Regions from separate parts of the Homo sapiens genome. Here regions 1, 3, 4 and 5 are each linked to region 2. The links are contacts of gene promoters, found by promoter capture Hi-C in blood cells and fetal thymus (Javierre and others, 2016). All regions are on one chromosome and are shown on one strand. The core of a region is centred on a gene start or on the middle of the fragment in contact, and the rest is flanking DNA. Distances in the headings are between cores, read along the strand shown. Region 1 overlaps LBR (lamin B receptor). Region 2 holds the start of ACBD3 (acyl-CoA binding domain containing 3). Region 3 has its middle 16 kb from the start of LBR. Region 4 overlaps LBR (lamin B receptor). Region 5 overlaps ENAH (ENAH actin regulator).

Region 1 (4,202 bases), core at 1,703-4,202, 780 kb before region 2:
AATGGCTAACATAACTGAGCACTATGTTGAACACTAATAATTCCTATATCATCCTCAGGCCCCTCTATACTCTGTGGACGTATCAGCCAGATTTTATACATGAGGAAACCAGTGCTCAAAGAGATTAATTGCCCACACACACATTGCTAAGAGGGAGCACAGCTAGCATTTGAAGCCACATCTCACTGTCTCTTTATCATGGCAATGGTCCATGGGCAGAAAGCATAACCCACGTGTACACAAATGAAGATCCCAACAGTCCCCTCTCTCCATAGTAAGGGGGGTAGAAAAGGTGGGACTTGTACCCAGCACTAGACTCTTTTAACAGCCATGAACAAAACATGTATTTAATTGTCTAGGAAACTGTACCATCTATATTTAAGTAAATTGCACCTAGAAACACTCCACCTTGTATCTTTTGTTAAAATCCTATATTTCATCATTTGCTCCAAACAGTGCAAAACTAAACACCAAAATATAAATCGTATACTTGGTATTGGTGCATATTCTGACACACCCACATTTTGCAATGTAATGTCACAATGTAACGTCGCAGCAGGAAGAATTGAGAGGTGAAGCTGTCTGATCTCATCTCACAATTCAGGCTTAGAGTCAACTGGAAATCCAAACAAGCACTAAAGCACGGTCAGCAGGCACAGTACATGTGTGTGTCTCGTGTGTCTCTCACACACGTACTGTCTTTCAAATGCACAGATGCTTCTGTGATTCATACAAATGCATTTGAAAGTATGACTGGATCTACAATAGTTTTAGCATTTCTGTATTTTCTCAAACAGCAAATACTAAACACATGACCATTTTCTGGGAGTTAGGATTCCCAACTAACCCCTTTGAGTTCCAACATTCTGAGAGTTTTAAACAGCAGTTGGCCAGGGGTCCCAAACAGATGATCCTAGGAAAACAGGAGGCTGGGCAGGGGTGGGAATCTAAGGGCTCCTGTCTTGGTCCCAAAAATCTCAGTTTCAAGCAAGAAAGGGAAAAAAAAAAGGCTCCAAAGTGATCAAAATGTTGCTACATTTTATTTTCAACTTAAAACTTCATTATAAAATTTGCCAAATAAACATGTCAAAAACAAACTTAAAAACAAAGTGTAGCTGATATCCAGAAATTGCAGCACTGTATTGATAAAGGGCTCTTTTCATTACCAGGGAAAGAATTTAATGTCCTTCCTTCCTCCCCAAAAGCTTCCTTGGTGCAATCCAGTACAGAAAACGCCACCACTTTCTGATGCCAGGAGAAAAGCAAAATAAAAAAACTGCTTGCACACATTAGCACTGATAAAACAATGACAATTTCACTAAAAGAATGTTTAAAGACTACCGGATGCTGGAGCAAACCAACTTCATGACTGCATTAACATAAGCTAAGTTACATACACTTCAAATGCAGTATAGAATTAACACTGCATATCTAAATGGCTCATATATAAAATGTGTAATTAAAACCCAAACATACACACTATGTTTATTACATTCCCCTACATTGAAAGTACTGAGAACAATTTAACTCTGAACACAAAAGTTTAGTGAATTTGCTACTGTTCCATTACAGGACAATTAAAAATGAGACTATATCAACTTCACTAGAATTTAATTGCTAAAGCTACCTTATGCACATCTATTAAACTAAAAGAAACGACTTTAACCCCTTCAGTTGTTTTTAAGACAGCACTCCTTTACAGGGAGTCAGGTTTGGTAAATATAAAGGATACATAAAAAATACAGTATAAACTGCATAAGCTTAACAGTAGCAAAAACACTGATGAACTTTTAAAAAGTCAAAAATATATAAAAATATTAGCCTGAAATGGCAAATTTTCAAACACCGATCTGTGTAAAAATGTTTAAATATTGATGTTACTCCAAAAATATATACTTATTCTATTTTTTTTCTATTTGCAACAGTTTATAAAGGCAAACAAACACCTGCAATTGAGGTAGCAAAGCCAAATTCACAAACTTTGGATCAAGAAAAATACCCTTCCTATGTTTTAACAGCATCTTCTATACAATAGTGAATGAATTCTAATTGTTCCAAAATTTTTAATTCACATTACTTTACAAAATTTTATTTAAAATACTGAAAATGTTTTGTTAAAAAGACAGTTAGTCCTGACAATCATCTCACATTCAAAATACTGTACAAAAAAATCTGAAGTCACCATATATTACAAAAAACTAAGCTATGTATTTACATTTTCAATGTAGTTTTAGAAGTTGAGGTTAAGCCAACTGCTACAAATGGTCTCCTTTAAGCAGTGTCTGCTAATAATGTCATCACTTTTCACTTTCAGCATTTAATATAGGCCCTTCTTTTTGCTTTCAAATTATATAATTAGTAAAGGATTTAAAGAAAAACAAATGAAAATTCTATTCTCTTACTGAATAAAACATAAATGTACTTTAAATGGAACAGTGTTTTCATTTAAGAAAAGCCAACTGGCAAAAAAACATCAAAATTTGAAAAGTAATCAGAAACCATAAACATCAATAGCATTCTTCACAGTACATTTATATTAAGACTGTCTTCTGTTTTCAGATTAAGGGTTGAAAATTTCCCATTAAAATGCAAATTCTCACATCCTTACTTGTATTTTTCCTATGTTAACTGTAAGTTAATACAAGTAAACACGGCTATATTAAAAGATCAACTACTCGGCTCCATAGTCCTGACTCAAAAAGAAAAAAAAAAGTACAGACCCTGTCAGTGCAACAAAAGAAAGTTTCGGATTTTTTTCCTTGTTTTTGCAAATGGCAGCTGGAATTGCAGGAGTATTTTGTAGAAAAGCCAGAAGAGCATTAGTAGATGTATGGAAATATACGGTAGGGCACACGCTGACAGTACTTTTCCCAAGCCACGCCGTATTTCTTCTTACAGTGGTACTCGTCACGAGCTTCTCGGTGGACAAGCAACATGGTGAAATAAATTATGTAGAAATAAGGCAGAATGTGGTTAAAACCTGTGGATAATAATAGTACACAGTATTAGATATTTTTATTATCACTACAATGTATTTTTTCCTGCTTTCCCCCAAATTCTCTAAAAATGGAACCACAAGGTACTTCATTTTCTCTAATAATGATGAGAATAATTAAACAAGTCTGTAAAATCCCACTGGAAAGTGGCAGAAGGTCGTATCTAAATTAGAAGCTACTCAAAGACTGATGAATCCATTCTAACAATCCATCACAATCAAAACATCTGTCCTCATAGTTAATACACATCTCTTCATTTCTCGCCCTTCTTCCCCCAGCAAAGAAGAAAAACTGCTGTCTTCCACCACAGGCTGGGCCACCAAACAGGCAGCAGGCACGGGCCAGCTCCTCCACCTCCACCAGCTCCCCTGGATCCCCCTGCTCCCCCAGTTCCCCCAGCTCCCCCAGCTTCCCAAGATCCCCCTGCTCCCCCAGTTCCCCCAGCTCCCCTGGCTCCACCAGTACCTCCAGCTCCCCCTGACACCCCAGCTCCCCAAGCACCTCCAGCTCCCACAGCTCTCCCTGCTCCCCTGCTTTCCCAGCTCCCCACGAGGCCAGACACACAAAAAGAAAAACAGAATCTCTTTCTCTTCTTAAAAACCAAAGTTTTTCCCAATCTATGTACACTGAATCATGAATTAAGAAGCTGAATTAATTTCTATATATTCTACTTAGAAAAAAGCTATCAGGCACAGCTGAAAACTTAAAATAGTGCTTTTAGGCTTAAAGTAAAACTTCAGGCTCTGTGAATTCCCAATTCCCCTCAGAAGCCAGAGGAGCTTCTACAGAGGCCAACCTCACAGTAGAAAAGGGCGACAAAAAGACTCACACCCACCTTGGCCACACTGTCCCACACAAAGGACACACACACACATCTTTCTGGCGGCTAAAAGGGTCAAACTAGCACTCTTCTGAAATGCTTACCACATGGGAGGGACCACGCCAAGGCCATGATGAGATCACCCAAGTAATTGGGGTGGCGAACAAAGCCCCACCATCCAGAAACTAGAAGATTTTTTCCCGTTGAAGTATGAATGGTTTTTAAATCTATATAAAAATAAAAGTACATTTTTAATGATGTCGAGACAAAAAGAAAAATAAAACCTTCATGTAATATATATAATATAAACATAAATCAATACTTACGTGCAAGCTTTGGATCACTGGGATTTTTCCGGAATGCATTTTTCTGAGAATTTGCACCTC
Region 2 (4,562 bases), core at 1,938-4,437:
GCAAGACTGACAAAACACCATGTGTTCCACCAGAAAAATCCACACATTAAAACAAAGGTGCCGGGCACGGTGGCTCACGCCTATAATCCCAACACTTTGGGAGGCCAAGGTGGGCAGATCACCTGAGGTCGGCAGTTCGAGACCAGCATGGAGAAACCCCGTCTCTACTAGAAATACAAAAGTACCTGGGCGTGGTGGCACATGCCTGTAATCTCAGCTACTCGGGAGGCAGAGGCAGGAGAATCACTTGAACCCTCGAGGCAGAGGTTGCAGTGAGCTGAGATCGCGCCATTGCACTCTAGCCTGAGCAACAAGAATCAAACTCTGCCTAAAAAAAAAAAAAAAAAAAAAAACCAGGCTGGGCACAGTGGCTCACACCTGTAATCCCAGCACTTTGGGAGGCTGACGCAGGAGGATCACGAGGTCAGGAAATCGAGACCATCCTGGCTAACACGGTGAAACCTCGTCTCTACGAAAAATACAAAAAATTAGCCGGGCGTGGTGGTGGGCACCTGTAGTCCCAGCTACTCGGGAGGCTGAGGCAGGAGAATGGAGTGAATCCGGGAGGTGGAGCTTGCAGTGAGCCCCGAGATGGCACCACTGCACTCCAGCCTGGGCGACAGAGTGAGACTCTATCTCAAAAACAAAAAACAAAACAAAGGCAGCATTACTTGGCTCACTCCACATTCCATAATTCTTCTGACTGCTTTTACATCCTTCCCTTTTGTCAGTTAGTGTCTCATATACTAACAGTCTCCAATGACACATGCAGAAAGGTAGCTTTTAATTGCTACACAGCTATTTCTCCTTTTTAGTACCTGGATATTGCTTTGAGAACTTCATTTAGGAAGTGAGTGAACCACACCTATCAGTGTAGCTTTATTCTCTAAGGTGACTAACACCTAGGCCCCAAGTTATAAGTTTCCCCAGGATTCCTACCACTCAAGACACATGTTAAAATAATCTGTTAGGTTAAGACCACTGAATCTTAAATCTGAGACATCATATTTTATAGAATCCAGCTCCCTTTATACATATGAAACTGATTCTGGAAAAGTTAATTGTCTAGTTTACAAGGTAACTAGAATCCAGAGCTTCCTGACTCTCCAAACAATGTTAAGTATACTACACGTTACAGTGTTTTAATCTTTTTCTTTGTTTTGAGACAGAATTTCACTTTGTCGCCCAGGATGGAGTGCAGTGGCATGATCTCGGCTCACTGCAACCTCTGCCTCCCATATTGAAGCGATTCTTTTTTTTTTTTTAGACGGAGTTTTGCTCGTCGCCCAGGCTGGAGTACAATGGTGCCATCTTGGCTCACTGCAACCTCCGCCTCCCGGGTTCAAGTGATTCTCCTGCCTCAGCCTCCCTCAGTCCTGCAACAGAGCAGGACTCCAGCTCAAAAAAAAAAAAAAAAAGGAATTAGTTCATTTCTACTCTTACTCTCTGCTACAATATACTTTACTGAAAAATAAGTTCCAAGAATAAAAATTTAAGATGGAATGTAGCTATATGAATTGTACAGAAACCACCTGATTTTTATCAAGTGGTAATATATCATCACTACAGCAAACTCTAAATTCAAGCCGGTGATCTAAAAGTCAAATGATCCAAAACCCATTAGCCATTACCAATTCCCCAAGCTAGTTAGTACACAGAGGGCTCAACTCATTGTGCAATGACCACGAATATGTCATTGAATGTGAAATGATCAAATGTTCTGGAAAATTTATAAAACTTTCACTAGTTTGCACAATTAAAGTTATTTTGAGAGAAAACAACTTCCGTGTGTATCATTACATTGAACTACTCAACTTTGGCTAGTAAAATATGTACTCCAAAAGGTACTCCCTCTGGGGAAAGTGTCATAAATATGCTGCTCTGGAATGTACGTGGAACCTAGCAACCACTTTTAAAGTTGCATTTGCTGATGTCCCTCCCTGTCCATTCGCCCTACAAGACTAAGTATCTTTAAGAATCAAACTAACGGGCTTTCATCAGTTTTTCCCACTGACAAAAATCATGTGATTGGTCTCTCCACCATTCGACTAAGTGAATCACCCAATTAAAAAAAAAAAAAACCGCACACTACAATCTTGCTCTAAGACAAGAGACATTTAACAATTAATTATGCGAAAAGCACAGAAGGTACTGTTAGGCCTTACTCTGAGAATTCACTCTTGCACATTGCTTACAATGTAAAATTTTAACCACCTAGAAGTTACTAGAACATAGTGGACATCTCTCCTCAAGAGTTTGACAAGCCGGAGAGGATGATGAGCTTAACACTTTACTTCCTCCTCTCTGCCACATCAATCTGCCGGGGGATCAAGTCCTGTTCCAGTTTATGGTTCCCAAGAATGGCTGGAAAAGCTATGTATGGAACCTCTTGACAGATTTCTTCCACTAAGGGTAAAAATCGGCGGGTTCTGATGTGACAAGCCATGGGAAATAGGAAAAGAAAAGCGTCAGTTAAAAAAATAATAATAATAAAAGGCAATCCCAGAATGGGATCCTTTGGAAGAAAGTGGGCTCATTCTTCCACCAGGGCTCCTGGAAATCCCAGAAGCTAAATCAGGTAAAATGTCCCGGTAACCTCTGGGAGGCGGGACATGACTGCTAAACCAAGGTTGCAGGCCCGTCAGGGGTGTGACCTAGTGGCCAAGCGGGTAGTGACAAACTTCGGGTACCCCCAAGGAGGGAACCCCGCTTGAGTCACCACAGCCCAGTATGAGTGGGTGAGGGCAAGTCTGGTCCAGTCACCCTGGGGACCACAGCCCACGCCGGGCTCCCGGGGCCGGGCAGAAGCGGCGGGGGTGGGGCTGGCCCGGCTCACCTTTGAAGAAGCGCAGTGCCAGGCCGTACAACTCCTCCAGGCCGAAACCCCAGCGCTGCTCCAGCCGCCGCGCCTCCTCCGCCGCGCCCCCAGCCGCCGCCTCCCCGGGCTCGGGCTGCTCCCCTGAGGCGCCCGGGCCGCGACCGGATCCAGGTGGCGAGGGCGGTGGCAGCGGTGGCGGCAGCAGCGGGGCGCCCTCCGCCCCAGGCCGCTCCTCCGGGTCCGGGCTGAGCGTGAGGCCGTCGACGGACACCTCGAGTCGCTCTGCGTTCAGCACCGCCGCCATCTCCGGCTGCTGCACCTCCTCAGCGGGGACAGACGGCAGCCACGTATCGACTTCCTGCTGACCTCTGACCTCCGCTTACCGACACCGGAACTTCCGCTGCTGAGGAGGCTGGAGGGCTCCGGGAGAGGGGCTGAGGCCTGGCGCCCCACCCCCTCCGGAATCGTCAGTTGCCCTGGCTCAGCGACCACCCTTCAGGCTCCCCAACTCCCGTTGGTCCCGAACTCCCCTCCCCCGCACCCCATCCTTTCGGATCCCAGTTGCTCCAGGTGGGCGGGTGCTACCACCCCCACCGCTCGGTTCGGTGCTGCGGCTGTCAGTGCCCAGCAGGGGCGGGGTCAGTGGAGCCCCGCGCGGGGGTCGGAGTAGGGAGGATTGACGAGGTCGGCCAGCACCCAACCCTCCAGGTCAGAGGCCCTTCACATTTGCAGGGGCCTGCGTGGTTGGCAGAGCTCTTTTGCCCACCACCATCTCGTTTGGCCTTCACAGCAACTCTAAGGAAATGCAGGGCAAATTCCCAATTTTTTTAAAAGGGGAAACTGAGACTGCAGAGAAATTCAGTGACTTTGAGGTTGCAGACGGGGCTGATCCTGGTTTTGCAGGAAGCGCAGCTCATACAATTTGTGGGGACCCTCATTAGGAAAGAGTACAAAAAGTTACGCGCAGAAGGGTAGGAAAGTGAATGTATATTTAGAAAGAGAAAGAAAAAACAAATGATATTTTAAAAGTTAATAAAACCCACAAACATCACACACATAACCGTAATATTTTCATTGACTGCCTGATATTCTTCTACAGGGCGTCTGAGAGCCCAGAAACCTATTTTTTTCTAAAAGATTGAAGTCGCCCCCGACATTATGTATATTCACCTGTGTTTCCAGACTTTGGGAGCACCATTTATGATCATTTTTCCCACCTTTGTTTTGGCTGCGTACTTCTGATTGCCTTTTCCTATAACAATTATTTTGTAACTTTTTTTTTTTTTTTTTTTTTTTGTTTTTTGCAGACAGTCCTGCTGTGCCACCCAGGCTGGAGTGTAGTGGTGCAATTCGGTTCACTGCAACCTCTGCCTCCCGGGTTCAAGCAACTCTCCTGCCTCAGCCTCCCAAGTAGTTGGGATTACAGGTGCTCACCACCACGCCCGGCTAATTTTTGTAAACTTAGTAGAGTCAGAGTTTCCCCATGTTGGCCAGGCTGGTCTCAAACTCCTGACCTCATGTGATCTGCCCGCCTCAGCCTCCCCAAAGTGCTGGGATTACAGGTGAGAGCCACCGCGCCCGGCGTATTTTGTAATTCTCTATAAAGAAAAGAGAAAGATCAGTCTTTTCTCCAGCATGGCTGATTAAATTTGTTTCTTAATAATTGTTTATAAATTTATTTCAGCATCACAACTCATTACTGATATTGTTAACGTACTTTTTTAGGGTTATTGTTCAGTTTGGG
Region 3 (4,057 bases), core at 1,544-4,043, 740 kb before region 2:
TACGGGAATCACTCCAGGCATGACAGGATCAGGAGGTACTTTATCCTGAGGTTCCTCTGAGCCATTAATTGCCATGCTGAAGGTGAAGAAACTGAAAGAATGGTTGAATGACCTGCTCCGGTTGACACAGGGAATGAGTGCCTTCTCCTCTGCAGAAGGAGGAACACCCTCCACCATGATGCTCTCCAAAACACCTGCACAGAGCACCCTGCTGGATGCCAGAGCCCTGTGAGGGCTTCCTGGTGCAGGTGAGGCCCGGCACAGCCAGCAGAAGGACTTATCCTGGCTAACAAAGACTTGTGTTACATGTCCCCCTTCAAAACTGGTGCCACATGTCTGTGTGACCTACCTGCTGGCCTCTCACTGCTAACTGAAGACAGGCACTATTTCCCCACCATAGTGGTCTTTTTGTCCTTCTCATGATTTATTGGATGCATAAAACAAACACATGAGCTGGCTCACACCTGTAATTCCAGGACTTTGGGAGGCCGAGACGGGCAGATCACGAGGTCAGGAGTTCAAGACCCATCTGGCCAACATAGTAAAACCCCATCTCTACTAAAAATACAAAAAATTAGCTGGGCATGGTAGCAGGCACCTGTAATCCCAGCTACTCAGGAGGCTGAGGCAGGAGAATCCTGTGAACCCGGGAGGCAGATGTTGCAGTGAGCTGAGATCACGCCACTGCACTCCAGCCTGGGCAACAGAGCAAGACTCTATCTCAAAACACACACACACACACACACACACACACACACACACACACACACACACGGAGGGCCAAAAAAAAATGGTAAGGAAGAAGAAGAATGGAGGCAGAAAAGATGCCACCCTGGAGAGGTGACCTGGCTGCTGTGGTAACGTGGACATGCTCAGCGCGTTTCAGGACTGTTAGGTTTCAGGGTCTGCCCACCTGCCTCTCCTGAGAGGGGGGCGACAGAGAGCTGGCTGCGTGCAGGGCTCTCCTGGGAATCTGGGCTCTCAGCCAGGCCACCCCACAGAAGTGTTCAGGGGCAGGGAGTTGTATATCCTGGAATGACTATTTAGAAAGGATATAACAGAGGGGAGAGAAAAATAAGGAAATGTGAGGAGTTAGGTCAATGCTTGCCCCTTCCCACGGGCCCACCCATGGTAACGCTGTGGCTCGCTGCAGGCCAGCCAGTATCTGGGAATACAGAGACGCATGATAGTGTCTTTCTACTCTGATTACAACTCCACTAGGTGCCAGCATTTTGCATGCAATCGCTCTATTAATCCTTTCAATGTCCTTGTGAGATAGGTCCATTTATCCCCATTCCACAGGTGAAGAAACTGAAAGAATGGTTGAATGACCTGCTCCGGCTGACACACGGAGTGAGTGGCTGAGCTGGGAAGAGAGACCAGTGGCGTGTAACTCAGAGTCCACGGTGTGTGATGTATGAAGGACTAAGAGAGACCAGTCAGGAGCAGCCGGAATCCCATCTGGAGCCTAAAGAGTTGTCTTTGGTGTAGAAAGTGTCTACCCCACCCCTAATTATATATCCAGTGAAGGCTGTTGCTTAACGTGGCTGTTGGCTCATAAACTGTAAGCACTATGAGAGCAAGTCTTTTCATCTGTGACCTCGATGTCCCCCTTGGTGCCATGGGCTGTGCCCATGTGCGCTAAATACACATGATCAGCCTATTGCTGTTTGGCCAGCTGTCTTTTTTTTTTTTTTTTTTTTTTTTTTTTTTGAGATGGAGTTTCGCTCTTTTTGGCCAGGTTGGAGTGCCATGGTGCAATCTCAGCTTACTGCAACCTCCACCTCCTGGGTTCAAATGATTCTCCTGCCTCAGCCTCCCAAGTAGCTGGGATTACAGGCATGCACCACCATGCCAAGCTAATTCTGTATTTTTAGTAGAGATAGGGTTTCACCATGTTGGCCAGTCTGGTCTCGAACTCCTGACCTCAGGTGATCCGCCTACCTCTGCTCCCGAAGTGCTGGGATTACAGATGTGAGCCACCATGCCCAGCCACCCAGCTGTCCTTTTAGGACACTTTCTGTACTCTCTGTAATAACAGAAGTCCCACACCAGGGCTGACTTTATAGAACCCTAGTTCCAAACTCTCTTAGTTCTGTCAGGAAAGCATTTGCATTTTTTTTTCTCCCCCGAGACAGGGTCTTGCTCTGTCACCCATGCTGGAGTGCAGTGGTGTGATAGCTCACTGCAGCCTCAAACTCCCCCAGCTCAAGCAATCCTCCCACCTCAGCCTCCCAAGTAGCTGAGACTACAGGCATAAGCCACCACACCTAGCCAGAAAAACTCTTTCTTTCTTTCTTTCTTTTTTTTTGAGATGGAGTCTTGCTCTGTCACCCAGGCTGGAGTGCAGTGGCTCGATCTTGGCTCACTGCAATCTCTGCCTCTCAGGTTCAAGCAATTCTCCTGCCTCAGCCTCCCAAGTAGCTGGGATTACAGGCATGCGCCATCACGCCCAACTAATTTTTGTATTTTTAGTAGAGATGGGGTTTCACCATGTTGGCCAGGCTGGCCTCGAACTCCTGACCTCAGGTGATCTACCAGCCTTGGCCTCCCAAAGTGCTGGGATTACAGGCGTGAGCCACCGCACCCGTGCCAGAAAAGCTTTTTTCTTAATAGCTCCCCTGGGAACCTCAGTTCTACCACCGAAGGTATACAATCACTCCAACAGATAACAAATCGACATTGTCGTGCATAAATGTAGAGCTGATCCGTATTTCATGTCAAAGGCCTGGACTGTGTGAAATTGGCTGGTATTTGTTCCAGAAGCACTTGTTCATGTTGAAGATGGGGCAGTTCTGAGTGGGTTAGCAGGCTGACGAGCTTGGCTCAGAAGCCGCTCACTATTGTTTGGGCTTTGCTTTTGACTTCACATCCTGAAATAAATGGTCGTTGCAGACCAGGCACGTGAGCAGGAAGTGGGCAGGGCTTAAAACACAGAGAAGTCATAACCTCTGCGGTTTGGTTCATGTTGTAATATGAAAACCAGGAAGCTTATCTTGCAGGAGGCTGATGTGTAAAAGTTCAGAATGGAGTGGAGCCCTCCCTCTTGGCACCCTATGCGCGGAGTCACCCTTTGTCTGCCACAGGAAGCACCCAGGTCCTGGCAGCTAGAAAACTGTAACAACTTGGAAACATTTCCCAAAATGTCATCATGGCATCAAAATGAGACAATCAATTTCTTGCAAAATTGTTTGCAAGAATACAATTTGATCAAAAGTAGAGTTAGACTTTTTTTTTTTTAAGACAGTTTCGATCTTGTTACCTAGGCTAGAGTGCAATGGTGATCTCTGCTTACTGCAACCTCTGCCTGCCAGGTTCAAGCGATTCTCTGCCTCAGCCTCCTGAATAGCTGGGACTACAGGTGTGCGCCACCATGCCCAGCTAATTTTTGTATTTTTAGTAGAGACGGGGTTTCACCATGTTGGCCAGGCTGGTCTGAAACTCCTGACCTCAGATGACCTGCCTGCCTCGGCCTCCCAAAGTGCTGGATTGTAAGCGTGAGCCACTACGCCCAGCCGAGTTAGACTTTCTCTAAGAACAGCCCCTCTGTGTGTTTTAACTTAAGTGAGAAACAACATGGGTGAGTCAGTGGTTGAAGGCAAGAGAGACACGGGAGAGACACTGATGCCCTGTCCATCCCTTCTCTGGGCCTCAGGGCATTCCAGCAGGTAGAGAACTCCACCCTCCTGCCTGCCTATCAGTCTGCTTGGTCTTGAAAGTCTGCTGCACAGAGTGGGTAGTGGCCATCTGAATCAGTGCTAACACAAAAGCTAGACAGCAATGCTTACAGGCTAGCCAGGAAAATGTTTTTACCAGAAAATTGCTTGAGAAGAGAACACAGAGTTTCAGTAGGGACATGACGATTGAGGATGGAAATGCTTGGTGAAGCAGAACATCCTGGCGTAGCCACAAGAAAACACAATAACCTTAAGGCAGTCACTCGAAGGCATCCTGGAGCCCCAGGCAGGGAGCATTTCACTTCACCAAGGCGTCTGGGGCCATCAAGTGGGAGAAAAAACTGAAGCCTAAAGCTCCTGCTACTGCTCTCTGAGCTCCC
Region 4 (4,061 bases), core at 257-2,756, 760 kb before region 2:
ACAAAGGCAGGAACTGCTACCATTAACTCTAAAATCAGCACGGGAAATGTTAGGATCTGAGAATGGATCAGATGAAGCCAATGGAAAATGCTTTCATAATGATCCATCTTTCATGAGACAAATGCAGCCTTTCCATTCCTGTTCTTTGAAGGTATTTCCATGAAACGAATGTATCTAAACCAATTAGCTGTACTTATTTCCAACACCATATGCAAGAAGGGTAATAATTAACATGGATTAAAACTGAGACGACAGGACAAAATAAATAAGCACACAGACCAAAAAAAAAAAAACAGTACCACAGTTTCACTCTGAACAAAACACATAAGCAGATCTTGAAAATAAAACATGAGCTTGGATGACTGGGAACTGTTTCACTGTGTCCCCACCTACTCCGAATCTCCTTATGTTGCTTCTAGGGATGTAGACAAATTACGCCCCAGGCCAAGTCCCTCACCCCAATTTTTGTGTGGCCTTCCTACTAAGAATGGCTTTTACATTCTTAAATGATTACAAACAAAATCAAAAGAACAGTATTTCCTGAAGTGTGAAAATTATCCAAAATTCAAATTTCACTGTCCATAAAGTTGTACTGGAACACTGCCATGTCTGCTCCCTTCCATACTGCCTGGAGCCGCTCCCATAAAGTCTAAAATATTTACTTTCTGTGCTTTATTCCTGGTCTAGAGCACTCGAAGTGTCATCCTCAGCCATGGGTCCTAGAAATGCTCGTTACTAATCTGTGCAAGTACCAAAATTGAGAAATAGGTGTATGGAAATGTTTATAGCATTTTGACAAAGTAATCTCATATCTATCGAATCTGATAGTAAAACTGTGAGTCGTCTATTGTGTATGTCTTTATTTTTCTAGTAACTCATTTTTATGGCATTTTATATAAATGTTTGTATACTACGGATCAGATATCTTAAAACCCAGGCCCTCACCAGACAGGTTGAAAAGCCCTGGGCTAGACTCGAATCTAATTAATGTCACTCTCCTGATTAAATCCTTGGTGTTCAGGATGAAGCCCAAACCCTTGGGCATGGAATATAAAAGCCCCCCCAGCCTGGCTCCTGCTTAGCCCTCCCCTACCACCCCCTTCCAGCACTTGGCTGACTGTGTCCCCCAGACCCCTGACTTTGGCATACTGCCCTCTCTGCAGAAACAGCCCCATCAACTGCTGTTTTTCCTGTTTGTTCTCAGCACTTGGCTAGGTGTCACTGCCTCTGAAAGCCTCCCCTGAAGCCCAGGGCTCTTCTCTACCCTTGATACACTCAACACCACCCACAGCAAACTCCAGACACAGAACGTAGTAAACCCAGGGGACCAACAGATGCAAATGGCTGTCTTTCCCAGTAAGTGTGAGCTTCTTGGGAACAAGGACTATGCCTCATTCATACATTCCCAGAGCCAAAAACAGTATGTGACCCAAAGCAAGAGCTCAATCCTCTGCCTTCAAACCGAGCTGAACTGACTATCCTGAGCTTAGAAACCATACTTAGAGTTATTTCCCACTTACTGTAAACACACTCTGATAAACCAAAGGAGCTCTTACCTTAATATCATTCTCTTTCAATTCAAGCTCTGTTCCATCTTTATACTTCACAGTGTAAAGCTGGGAGGTGCTGTCGTGGCTCAGAATTTCTACTTCATAATAAAGTGAACTCCCAGGCCATCGACCTCTTACCACTTCACCATCGGCAAATTTCCTACTTGGCATTTTCTATAATTAACCTGAATAGTTTTAAAGAAAAAAATTTGAGTCAATACATACACATTTATGTATTCGTCTTTTTCCACAGGCTGATCACTAAAATACAACTTTCCAGAATTGACTGGTCAGGATTTTAGGGCCAGAAAGGCTACATTCAATCTCATTTGGAATCATTTGAGAGGATGATTTAGCCACTGCGTTATCTATGTGACACTAAAGATTAATTATAACAATGTATATAGGCGCCATAAGTTCACACTATGTAAAATGTTACCCACCTACCGTGATCACAGTTCTCGCTAATCAAAAAATGAGGCACAATCTCACAAAGAACACATTTTCTCATTTGTAAATTTGCGTATCAATTTACAATGGCTTTAAAAATGCATTTAATTGTATTTTTAACAAATTGCCTTTATTAAAAACAGCAAACTATAAACCAGACTGGGAAAATCAAGGATGTACAATTAACATGACTATAACCCAACAATAGGAAGAAAAATAATTCCAAGTCTGTAATGAATAAATTTGGGGGTTATTTAGCTTTCAACTCTTACAGCTAAAGTACAAATGCATACCAAGTAACTCTGCCAACCACCCACCTAAGCCAGGGTGGTTGCCTTCATCCAAGCTCACTTCTCTCAAGCCTACAGCAGCCATCAACCCCCAATTATAACATTCTTTTCCTCTGATTCAAAACATGGCCCACAAGCCCCACAATACTCTAGGAATCCACAAGCAATCTGCAAGAACTGCCACTTACGTGAGGCCTGTCTGCCACCCTTTTTGAAATATCAATTGATAGCTGGGTACTTCCAGCTGCCAGACAGTAATGCCGCTCCATCGGCTGACCAGCGGAATCACATTTCCACACAACAAAACCAGGGCTGCCGACCTTCCCCAGTACCACATGAACTAGCTGGGGCCACGTCCAAGGGGCAGCCAGTAGGACAGATATGAGCTGTCTCCCAAATCACCTTCATTTCACCAACTAAGCACTTCTTGATGTATTGTCCAAGCCTATCAATGTACATTCCTCACTGGCTCCTGTTAAGAGCTGATGATACAATAAAAGCAACATTTAGGAACCTTTGAAGACTCTGGAATTAAGGAGAAAGTTGAATTACCTACCCCAAGGGAGTAGTGGGAGAGTGGGGGGGGAGGCGGGGTGAGGGAGGCCTTTCTTAACCACCACATTTTTTCACTGTTAATCGTCTGTGAAAAAACTTAACAAGCTCTACTAGTTTACAGAGATGGCAGCTAGGTTGGTAGATGAAAGAAAACACAAGTACTTATCTGGTGATTAGAGGATGTCAGTCAATTAACACATTAGGTAAGAGAGGCAGCTTTCTTCCCTACACCTACCTGAGATTGGGCATCACTGGGGTAATGAATGGGTTTGGGCTTGGAGTAGTGGGGAGGAGCCCACAAGTTTTCGGGATGAAGTCAGGCCTGGCTGAGTCACCCGAGGGGCACTTAGGGAGCAGGGGGGCAGTGAACACCTCTGCATGAGCAGGGGCATAAAAACGGAAGGTGACAACATCCAGCTTTGCCTATTTCAACATTTAGCTCAGAGCCTCCAAGTACAAAGAAAGAGGAAGGAAATGTACCCTCCTTCTCTCTTCTCTTGAGCCCCCTCCTCCTCCCTAGGCCCCCCAAAATCAAACCACTCTTACTAGTACTAGCTCTCCTACACTGGTCAGCCAGAGTTAAAAGAAGGCAATTATGTCTTCCTACAGGAAGATGCTCAAGTTGCAAAAAACTCTTTATAAACTTTTGAAACACAAGCCCTTCAGGACGCAGGGGCTACTTGAGGTTTTAAAAGACCCTTGAACAGTTTCTGCGTGTTCTTAAAAACTTATTTACTGGCATCTTTCCATTGCACTTACACACCACATACACAGTATCTGTGTAATATAAACGCAGGCCAGTGCCAAAAAGATTCTTATCAATTATTCTGGGTTAAACAAGTTAACACATATGGTGGATACCTGTTAGGTCTCTAAAGCTTACTTTTTAAAAGAAGAATTAAGATTTGCTTGAAAAACAAACAAAATGAACCGGCATTCTTCTTAGAAGACCATTATCTTATACACAAATGTTCCAAAAGATGAAGCCAACAACATGATGTGCACCCCCACTTTACACAAGATCCACACACAATTGTCAAACGTGAGGATACAGTGCAATCACATCCTAATATATTCCCCCACAGGAGTGAAATAGCCAGGATGGCACACAAAAGCCCCACATTTGTTCGTGTCACTCACTATGCACTCACCTACAGGAGTCAAGATACACACAGGATTTTCTTACAAGAGATGTTTTAGGCAAGTGTGTTTGTAA
Region 5 (4,167 bases), core at 1,520-4,019, 700 kb before region 2:
AACTTTGGGCTCAAGTGATCCTTCTGCCTCAGCCCCCCGAGTCGCTGTGCCTAGGAGCACGCACCACCACACCTGGCTTAAGTAGAAGGTTCTGAAATCTGCCAGAGGCTGAGCAACAGAAAGCTTCCAATGAGAACTCAGAAGGCATTCACTCTGCCTGAAGTTGTGCTCTGCTCACAGCACGAGTGTGGCTGTCCCTCTCTCGCTCCCACCAGCTACATAATAGGGACTTTCAGGATGCTCCTATAAATACAGACTCCAGAGAGGTTTCCTCAAAAATTAAAAAAAAAATTCTATGCAAATATGTAAGTACTGTCATTGAGGATTACAGAAATACTTTGCATCAACTACAGATGTCTCAAAATAGAATTCTTTCTAGCTCATTCAGTTTTGTTAGAAACACTTCATGTTCTCCAAAAAAGAAAAGCACCTAACGAAAAGCATGTCCTATTCATGCTAGCAAGAAATGAATCCCAAAGGACACGCACCAAGAACCAAAGTAAAAGAATGTCAGCAAAACAGGACCCATCTTTTATCATCCCAAACTGCTATTTCCATCTCTGACTTTCTGCCAAATTATCTTTATCTTCCTAAGACGAAGCAAAGACTCAGAGCCCTCAAATGGCACGGAAGCGGCACCTGGTCTGCCAAGACATTGCTGTTAAACAGAGTCTTTTGGATTAAAACCAGGGAACTCGGAAGGAATGACTACATGGATATAGATGGATAAGATGGAAGATATAAAATAAGAAGGGCAGGAGGGTAAGATTATTCCTTTTTTCCTTTCAAGGCTGACAGTGATAGAATAAACAGCAGCACAGCAGGTTCAGATGATATGAAAACCACTGAATTCTGCCCAGGAATTGAAAGAAGGGCTTCTTCACTTCATCGAGCTCTGGAAAGTCTGTTTACTTAGAAACAGCTCTTGAACTACAAGAGTCAAATGGACCTTCTGCTATTCATATAATTGGAGCATGGATCTCGTGTGGTCCCATTACATGATTGGAATCAGTCTTTCTGAACGGCAGAATGTGCTTCCAGGTTGAAGCACAATGGAGAATGTACTGAAGCCACCACAGAGATGCTGGTAATTCAAACTGTGAAAGCACGTGGCGCAGAGGAAACTGACACAGAACAGCACACCACTGGTGCTTTATGCAACACCACTGACCCCAAGATGGTCACTCCATTGATTTTTCCGCATTGTTTACATCCAGGATGCATGCTGTCCAGTGCAATAGCGTCTATGACTATAAAACAACTAAAAGCTGCACTTAAGATGGGAGAGCCAAACTCAGATCTTTTTTCTCCTTCTCTTCAAAGATCAAAAGAAGAATAAACCAAAAAAGATTAAAAAAAAAGAATAAACCAACCAGTAGCTGCCGAGAATACAGTGAAAGAGGAAATTCAGAACTCAACTTTATCGGGGATGGGCACGGTCGCTTATGCCTGTAATCCCAACACTTTGGGAGGCCAAGGTGGGTGGATCACCTGAGGTCAGGAGTTCGAGACCAGCCTGGCCAATACGGTGAAACCCTGTCTCTACTAAAAATACAAAAATTAGCCGGGTGTGGTGGCGCATGCCTGTAGTCCCAGCTACTAAGGAGGCTGAGGTAGGAGAATCGCTTGAACCCGGGAGGCAGAGGTTGCAGTGAGCTGAAATCACACCACTGCACTCCAGCCTGGATGACAGAGCGAGACTGTCTCGAAATAATAATAATAACAATAATAATAAAAAGCTTTATCTATCCTTGCTTGTATAGTGGCAAGGAAAAAATAAAAACAAAACAAAAAGAATTTAAAAAAAGAACTCAACTTTAGAGGTAGAAGGCTCAGAGAGAATGACTGACTAGCCCCACAGCCTGAAAACTGGTAAAGTCAGTCCCAGTCCAATGACCTGCCCACAACTCCACACACAAAAAAGGACAGACTGAGAGAGACTGAGGGCGGGAGGAACACAGAGAAAGGGAAATCAAGTCCAACAAGGTGGCAAAGACATGGACTCAATAACAATTTTTACCATGTTTTCTTTCAGAAACAAGGACATTTTATGTGAGGATCAAATATTCTCCCTTCAAAAACTTCTGCAATTGAAGGCCGAGGCGGGCAGATCACCTGAGCTCAGGAGTTCAAGACCAGCCTGGGCAACATGGTGAAACCCCATCTCTACTAAAAATACAAAAATTAGTCGGGCATGGTGGCACGCGCCTGTAGTCCCAGCTACTTGGGAGGCTGAGGCAGGAAAATCCCTTTGAACCCAGGGGGGGGAAGTTGCAGTGAGCCGAGATCGCACCACTGCACTCCAACCTGAGTGACAGAGCAACACTCCGTCAAAAATTTTTTTTTGCAATTGAAACTTAAAATGATCAAGCCCAAAGTACCTCTGGGAAGGACACCAAATTGTAAAGTCCTGACTCAGGCCTGAACCTCCCATCCCTCTAGTAATAAAGAAGAAAGGAAATGCTACCTAGATTTTAACAGGGCTTTCTTCTCAATATCTAAGCCTTCCCAATTACTTTCCTCAGATAAACTATAAGCTATTCTTCTCCTGGAAATTTAAGTGGCAAAGTCAACGTCTTTTACCAACCATCCATGGGCTATTGCTGAGTTGCGGAACTAGCCTACAGCTAACTCAAATTCATCACCTCAGACTCACTGTGATGCCCAACCACTGGCACTGGGGTGGCCTTATGACTTACGACAATCAAATGGGGTTTGTGAATCCATGGTTAAGCTAGCCTGCCACCAAGGATGGACAAACCTCAGACTTGATCAATGGGTGGAGGGAAACTCCATATTTAAAATGCCCAGTGCCTCGGTCAGCAGAACCAACCAAGTGACACCTGAGATCAACTGGTAGTAATAATGAAAAGCTGGTATTTCTCACATAAAACACGTTGAAAAACATTTATTTATTTAGAGATGGAATCTCGCTCTGTCGCCCAGGCTGGAGTACAGTGGCGCGGTCTTAGCTCACTGCAACCTCCACCTCCTGGATTCAAGCGACTCTTCTGTCTCAGCCTCCCGAAGAGCTGGGATTACAGGTGCCCACCACTATGCCCAGCCAATTTTTTTGTATTTTTAGTAGAGATGGGGTTTCATCATGTTGGCCAGGCTGGTCTCAAACTCCTGACCTCAGGTGATCTGCCCACCTCAGCCTCCCAAAGTGCTGGGATTACAGGCGTGAGCCACCATGCCCGGCCATGAAACATTTATTTTTAAAATGCCTTTAATCTTTAAAAAAAAAAATAAAAGAAAAAGAAAAAAAGAAAAGAGGTTTCACAGATGTGACTAAAGCATGGACTGTTAGGCGCTTAAGAGACCAAATTTTTAAAAGCGTTCTGTAATGTATCTCTCTTATATGGTTGCAACAATGTGTATTTTAAGTGTAAGCCAAGAACCTTTTCTCTCAGTTTCTATAGACTTGGATGGAAACTTTTGGACTTGATGGGAAAATTAACTCTCAATCTAAACACTAGCCAATGTAGACTTTTTCTTCTGAGTGCTTTTTCCTATGGAATTCAAAGTACCAACTATTCAATTCTCGATTTTCTAAGCCTTCTTAGAAGAATAACTATTTACTAAAACCCAACCAAACCAACCTATAACATCATCCATCTCCTTTATTAGTTATTTCTTTATGCTTTTAGAATTGTCATCTACTGCTGAAGAAATCTTTCTTGGAATTGAAGGGAACAGTTAAATCAGATTTACATGATAAACTATGGGTTGTCATTTGTATATAGAACTTTTACGGAATAAATGTAGTCTAACAAACTGGGCTCTCTAATGAAATATGTAAGCTTTTCTAATAATTTCTATGAAAAGCTATATTCTCTTAGAATTTTTTTTTTTTTTTTTTAGAGACAGGTTCTCGCTCTGTCACCCAGGCTGGAGTACAGTGGCATGATAACGGCTCACTGCAGCCGCGTCCTCCCTGGGCTCAGGTGATCCTCCCGCTTCAGTCTCCTGAGTAGCTGGGATTACAGGTGTGCACCACCATGCCTGGCCTAAATTTTTAAATTTTTTTGTAGAAATGAGTCTCCCTGTTACCCAGGCTGATCTCAAAACTTCTGGCCTCAAGCAATCCTCCCGCCTCTGACCAGTTTACCGAGCTATTTAGATGTCCTAACTACTAGGAATTATATGTCTTTAAAAACTGAGGAA

What was found. The method cuts DNA at HindIII sites, captures the fragments that hold promoters and counts their contacts. A CHiCAGO score of 5 or more calls a contact.
Region 1: a fragment that was not itself captured here is called in contact with the fragment with the promoter of ACBD3 in region 2 in 1 of 17 cell types (neutrophils); the score reaches 5.8 in neutrophils.
Region 3: a contact is called between a fragment that was not itself captured here and the fragment with the promoter of ACBD3 in region 2, in 4 of 17 cell types (activated CD4 T cells, naive CD8 T cells, total CD4 T cells and 1 more). The highest score is 7.8, in activated CD4 T cells.
Region 4: a contact is called between a fragment that was not itself captured here and the fragment with the promoter of ACBD3 in region 2, in 3 of 17 cell types (total CD4 T cells, non-activated CD4 T cells and naive CD4 T cells). The highest score is 7.8, in total CD4 T cells.
Region 5: a contact is called between a fragment that was not itself captured here and the fragment with the promoter of ACBD3 in region 2, in 1 of 17 cell types (neutrophils). The highest score is 5.4, in neutrophils.

Annotation. Positions count from the first base shown.
Region 1 is chr1:225,400,484-225,404,685 of GRCh38, forward strand. LBR (lamin B receptor) reads right to left here. Exons shown (of 14, transcript NM_002296.4): 12 at 4,143-4,202; 13 at 3,921-4,043; 14 at 1,019-2,980. The coding sequence ends at 2,820. Among named protein-coding and RNA genes, the nearest start is that of LBR, 25 kb to the right of the region's middle. The HindIII fragment of the contact is 2,389 bases long and covers 1,759-4,147 here.
Region 2 is chr1:226,183,554-226,188,115 of GRCh38, forward strand. It overlaps ACBD3 (acyl-CoA binding domain containing 3), which reads right to left and starts at 3,188. Exons shown (of 8, transcript NM_022735.4): 1 at 2,837-3,188. The coding sequence starts at 3,122. LOC101927247 (a long non-coding RNA gene) reads left to right here and starts at 4,343. Exons shown (of 2, transcript XR_001738504.2): 1 at 4,343-4,380. RefSeq lists silencers at 2,679-3,158, 2,795-3,089. The HindIII fragment of the contact is 12,408 bases long and covers 1-4,562 here.
Region 3 is chr1:225,442,128-225,446,184 of GRCh38, forward strand. No RefSeq gene overlaps it. Among named protein-coding and RNA genes, the nearest start is that of LBR, 16 kb to the left of the region's middle. RefSeq lists enhancers at 2,509-2,578, 3,079-3,128, 4,024-4,057 and a cis regulatory region at 2,683-3,222. The HindIII fragment of the contact is 389 bases long and covers 2,600-2,988 here.
Region 4 is chr1:225,422,355-225,426,415 of GRCh38, forward strand. LBR (lamin B receptor) reads right to left here. Exons shown (of 14, transcript NM_002296.4): 2 at 1,557-1,735. The coding sequence starts at 1,721. Among named protein-coding and RNA genes, the nearest start is that of LBR, 3.7 kb to the right of the region's middle. The HindIII fragment of the contact is 4,429 bases long and covers 1-3,721 here.
Region 5 is chr1:225,488,240-225,492,406 of GRCh38, forward strand. It overlaps ENAH (ENAH actin regulator), which reads right to left. Exons shown (of 14, transcript NM_018212.6): 14 at 1-4,167. Among named protein-coding and RNA genes, the nearest start is that of LINC02765, 23 kb to the left of the region's middle. The HindIII fragment of the contact is 2,064 bases long and covers 1,738-3,801 here.